Linked DNA regions of Homo sapiens: region 1 is linked to region 2. Evidence: promoter capture Hi-C in 16 types of primary human blood cells and fetal thymus (Javierre and others, 2016). All regions are on one chromosome and are shown on one strand. The core of a region is centred on a gene start or on the middle of the fragment in contact, and the rest is flanking DNA. Distances in the headings are between cores, read along the strand shown.

Region 1 (2,755 bases), core at 1-2,500, 45 kb after region 2:
CCTGCCTCCGGCCACAAAAGCTGCCTTATGGCTCTCTAGCCACATGTATCTGAGGAGCTCTCTATCTCGGGGGGAGGGGAGAGGGGGAGGTGCAGAATCACAACAGGAGGTGTCTCACCATCAGCCGGGCGTGGTTGATGTTCCAGGTGAAGGTAGTCATGGTCTGATTCTGTGGGTCCACAATAGAGTCCTCCAGGACGTACACCGAGTGAGCAACATTGGCAGGAAATAGTCGCTCGGCCCAGCGTGGCATCCTGTTGGTCTTGGTCAGGAGTCGCCGGGACAGCAGTTTCTGGTCAGGGGTCACCTCCCGGTGTACTATGTCTTCCGTCAAGACATGTTTGCTGCAGGTGTCAGGGTGAAGGTGACCCTCAGAAGCTTGCCCCTAAGAGACTGCCCGAGGGGATTCCCATTTGGAGGCTCCGGGCCTAGAGAGGCCACGCCTTCCCGTAACCTTGCAGGGTGGTATGTGCTATGGTTCAAACCAGAGTTAAGGGCCCATCCCAGGGCAAATTCCCACTCCCGCCATCTGACTGACCTGGATTCCTGCCTTCTAGCAGGAATGGACCTCATGATTTATTGCACCCCAGGAAAGCGCCACGGGCAGAGAAATAGGATTTCCAACTCCAAGATCCCTCCCAACTCCCATACTGCCGCCTCTTCTTGTCTCACCACACTGAGAAAAGAATCTTACACTAAGGTCTCAAGTAAACCACCACCCAGGCCCAACCTCCCTTCAGGACCTTGCAGGCCTGGCCTGGCCGCTTCCCCGATAAGGTCTACCTAGGATTCGATATCGAGTCCTTCCTGGTCCCAGTACTTGGGGGTTACCCATAATTCGATCTCCAGATAGCGAGATGGCGCGGTTTTGCTCTTCCAAATACCACGTACCTATAGGGATTCGGGTACCGCTGCCAGAAGGCGGCGAACACTTGGTCCCAGGAACTCCGGAGCACGCTCTGGCCCAGGAAATACTTCACCATCGTCCCGGCCGAAGCGGGCTCAGCACCCGCGCAGCATCAGGGGTGCGGAGCCTGGGAGGCACGCGAGGGCCGGGCCGGGCCGGGGCTCGGCGCACACCCGCCGCCAGGCTCGTAGCTCAGTCACCACCGCACCGCGCCCAAGCAGCTGCCGCCGCCGCCGCCGCCGCCATGAGTTGTCCGGCCGCGCGCCACTTCCGGCGCAGCCACACAGTAGCCACCGCTTCCGGCGCCCGCGCCACGTGACCTTGCGGCCCCGCCCCCTCGCCCTCTAGCCCCCTCCCGCGGGAGTCGCGGCGCTGCGGGTAGGAGCCGGGTTGCGGGAGACCCCAGGTTCGGTTGGGATTCCCAGCCAGAACGGAGCTTAAGCCGGGCAGGCGAGCGAATGACGGAGTAGCGAGCTGCACGGCGGCGTGCTGCGCTGTTGAGGACGCTGTCCCGCGCGCTCCCAGGCCGCCCCGAGGCTTGGGGTCTTCGAAGGATAATCGGCGCCCGGGGCCGAACAGCGGGGGCACACGGGGCGCTGCCGAAGTGCAAGGCCACGGCCAGAGCTCGAGCCCGACGCGCTGTCTGGAGTCGTAGGTTGGCGCCGTTTGGGGTCGGGGTCTGAGGCTTGGGCGCTGCCTGGGCCGAGCGGAGATCGGGGTTTGCCTCCCGTCCCCGCTCAGGACCCTGACGTGGCTGAAGCGGCCCCGGGAGCATGAGCGGGCAGCGCGTGGACGTCAAGGTGGTGATGCTGGGCAAGGAGTACGTGGGCAAGACTAGCCTGGTGGAGCGCTACGTGCACGACCGCTTTCTGGTGGGGCCTTATCAGAACGTGAGTGCATCCGGAGGGGCCAGGCACGGTGGGCGGGGGAGTGGGGGGCCGGTAATCTGCACCTATGGCCCCGATCTCTTCCCTCTCGTTGCAGACCATCGGGGCCGCCTTCGTGGCCAAGGTGATGTCGGTCGGAGACCGGACTGTGACATTAGGTATTTGGGTAAGTCCCCCGGCCATCTATTCTTGGGAGACTCATTCCTGAGGAGGTGTAGGTCCTGCCTATTACTGGTTGATTTGTGGCCTCACAGACCCATTTCTCATAGACCCGTTTCCTTATCTGGAAAATAGCGGGGTCTGGAGAACGTGGCCTTAAGTTTGACTCAGGCCTTACTCTTTAGGACACAGCAGGCTCTGAGCGCTATGAGGCCATGAGTAGAATCTACTATCGGGGTGCCAAGGCTGCCATCGTCTGCTATGGTAAGGGGGGGGGGGGTTTGGGCTGTCTCACAAGAAAAGATGGGTGCCAGGCTAGCCAGAGAACAGCCCTTGACCACTTGGTTGTCTCCTGCATGCCGCACACCAAGACCTCACAGACAGCAGCAGCTTTGAGCGAGCAAAGTTCTGGGTGAAGGAACTGCGCAGCCTAGAGGAGGTAGGTGAACAGACCTCACTAGAACACTAGGGGCTGGGGTTTTGTTGGCCTGTGGAGGTGACCCTTGTCTTCTGCCTCAGGGCTGCCAAATCTACTTATGTGGCACCAAGAGTGACCTGCTGGAAGAAGACCGGAGGCGTCGACGTGTGGACTTCCACGACGTCCAGGACTATGCAGACAGTAGCTGCTCCTCAGCCCTTTGGGGGGTGGGGGTGTGTGGCTGTCTGGGTGGATCAAAGAAAATAGGGACTGCCTTGGCTGCCAGGGCAAGGTGCTCTAGGAGGTCTTCCTGGCCTCCTTGAACTGTGGGGTCCAGGAGACTCCCTGAACTGCTAGCCCTCCCTTTTGTCTGTTTATCTAATT
Region 2 (2,704 bases), core at 188-2,687:
TAAAGAAATGATAATTCAGCCTTATATTTTTCATGGAAATGAGTTCAGTATAGCATTATTATTATTTTTTGAAAGCAAGGTGCAAACAGTGCTGGAACTGTAGAAATCAGGAGTAGCCACAAGTAATAGACGCATCTAAGACAGTGGCTTACATTTTGGTTGTAGATAGCTGATGGTTGGCATCATCAGTGGCTCGAGGATGTCACAGGACTGAGAGGCTTCTGCACTTGCCTTCATCGAATTTTCAGTCTGGAGTACAATTGTTTTGCCTTCCTTCCTCCACCTTTCTATTTGGCTCTGCTGATATTCCTGAAACATTTGGAGTGCTTCCTGTAAACTCTGGAAAGAAATGGCTTGGAAATCAGAATTTTCTGTTCAGTGTTTCCCAAGAACTGCCTCTTCCTTTAATGAGCTGGAGAGATGCTTCCTAAACTTTTCCCTTTTTTATCTCCTTCATTCACTCCATCCGGGAGAGGCATGCACTCAGGCGAACATTCCCTGAACACCTGCTGTCTTCTGAGCAGCCATAAAATAGCTCCTGCTGTGGTGCAGGGGGGGTGGTCTAGATGAAGGAGTGGCTCAGAGTTGACTAGAACTCTTAAGTGCCTGGTGGCTGCAGCATAGGACCTGGGGAGGCTGCTCAGGCCCTGTCCTTTTGGGGGTCTTGTGCGGAGGCTGCGGCAGTGGTCTTTAAGCTTTCTTTGCTGTTGTAGCAACCTTTTGAAAAGTTGGCATCAAAAATTGTTTGTCATTAGGTTTAAGTATTTGCAAAGGATGACAGCATATTTTAAATATTGACATTTTAAACTAAAACTGTTCAGTATTTTAAACATTCAGTGGAATCTAAATATTGCAATTTGATATCCACTTTTTTTTTTTTTTTTTTTGAGACGGAGTCTTGTTCTGTCACCCAGGCTGGAGGGCAGTGGCGCAGTCTCGGCTCACTGCAACTTCCGCCTTCCTGGTTCAAGTGATTCTCCTGCCTCAGCCCCCTGAGTAGCTGGAATTACAGGTGTGCACCACCACGCCCAGCTAGTTTTTGTGTTTTTAGTAGAGGTTTTTTTTTTTTTTTTTTTTTTTTTTGAGACAGAGTCATGCTCTATCACCCAGGCTGGAATGCAGTGGTGCGATCTCAGCTCACTGCAACCTCCACCTCACGAGTTCAAGCGATTCTTCTGCCTCAGCCTCCCCAGTAGCTGGGATTACAGGCGCGCACTGCCATGTCCAGCTAATTTTTTGTATTTTTAGTAGAGATGAGGTTTTGCCATGTTTGCGAGGCTGGTCTCCGACTCCTGGCCTCAAGTGATCTGCCCACCTCGGCCTCCCAAAGTGCTAGGATTACAGGTGTGAGCCACTGTGCCTGGCCAGTATGTCAGTTTTTTAATTGAACTTGTACTTTCATTTCCACACAGAATATTATCCTAATGCAATATATTTAATGCTTGAAAATGTTATTCATTAGCCTACCATATTCTTCTGCAAGTAAAATTAATATAATAATTTAAACTTTTCAATTTTGTTGAGACTGAAACTTTTAATATTTTGTTTGAGATTATTATAATTATCTGTACACACTTGATAAAAGTAAATGCATTACACAGTTTTTGAGTAATTATACAAAAGTAAACATTTTTTGAAACATGAGATCTCAGTAGGATGTCACCCCCCACCCCCATCTGGATGGATAATACTGTCAGAATAAGACAAGTTCAGTACCACTTCTACTTTTTGTTTTTATGTACATGAATTCTGAGAAACTGTGTTCTCTTAAATAGTAGTTGGAGATGGGGTTATTTTTAAAATTTTAAATTTCTATTATAGATGGGATCTTACTATGTTGCCCAGTCTTATCTTGAACTCTTGGACTCAAGCAATCTTCCCACCTCAGCCTCTGAGTATCTGGGACACAGGTGCTCACCACCACTGTGCCTGGCACAGCGGGAGTTTTGGTAGAGCAGCATCACTGAATATTTTGATCTTCTTTTGGTTTATAAACCCAACGTCATGCAGTGATCTTTTATCAAAATTTTTGATGATGTTTCGGCTGACTGTTGATTACATCTGCATTCCGTTTCGTTGCAAGCAGAGATGTGGAAACTGCTGAACTGTAAAATAGCCTCTTATTGCCAGGTGATTCTGATGTAGTTGGCCTGGTGTAGGACCAAGGCATTAAGCTTTCTGAGCTCCCCAGGTGGGTTTGCTGTGGGTTAAGAACTGTGGTCATATCGTGTTTGTCCCCAAAAGCAGCTTCTGAATCATTTCCAGCCTGTGCCTTGCCTGCTTAAGATCCTCCAGAGGCCTTCTATTGTCTGTATCATAGTATGTCTCTACTAATCTGCAGTTTTAATCTGGGGTCATGAAGACTTTCCAAGGCCTGCGTAGTCCTGGAGGAGTCTGTTTCCAGGTCCTCCACTGTCTCATGTGCTCATTCCTGAAACCAGCCTCCCCGTGAACATGCTGGGAATGGGTGTGTGGGTTTTCCTTTCCCACCTCCCTCACTCAGTTGCCCTTCTGCTCTGAGGTCAGCCTCCCAACAGCCTGGTCTTTCTTCAGGGTGTTGTCCCCAGGTGCAGAAAACTCCTGGGCACCAAAGAGACCATTTGAAATCTGGTTTCTGGGCTGACTTTTGTACATGTGAGATATTTTTTTTTAAAGTTTTCAAATATATGAGGGCTATTTTAGTTATCTTTTAAAATTGTTTATT

The links. Contacts are between HindIII fragments. The CHiCAGO score rates a contact against its expected background, and 5 or more counts as called.
Region 1: the fragment with the promoter of RAB24 here is called in contact with a fragment that was not itself captured in region 2 in 2 of 17 cell types (erythroblasts and megakaryocytes); the score reaches 6.0 in erythroblasts.

Annotation. Positions count from the first base shown.
Region 1 is chr5:177,302,214-177,304,968 of GRCh38, reverse strand. RAB24 (RAB24, member RAS oncogene family) reads left to right here and starts at 1,250. Exons shown (of 8, transcript NM_001031677.4): 1 at 1,250-1,797; 2 at 1,892-1,960; 3 at 2,139-2,217; 4 at 2,325-2,392; 5 at 2,473-2,572. The coding sequence starts at 1,681. PRELID1 (PRELI domain containing 1) reads right to left here and starts at 1,170. Exons shown (of 5, transcript NM_013237.4): 1 at 892-1,170; 2 at 119-344. The coding sequence starts at 983. RefSeq lists enhancers at 40-109, 120-189, 340-399, 420-469, 580-679 and 2 more and silencers at 910-1,049, 1,160-1,239, 1,290-1,359. The HindIII fragment of the contact is 8,255 bases long and covers 381-2,755 here.
Region 2 is chr5:177,347,067-177,349,770 of GRCh38, reverse strand. All of the region lies in intron 2 of LMAN2 (lectin, mannose binding 2), which reads left to right. Among named protein-coding and RNA genes, the nearest start is that of LMAN2, 3.2 kb to the left of the region's middle. The HindIII fragment of the contact is 1,479 bases long and covers 698-2,176 here.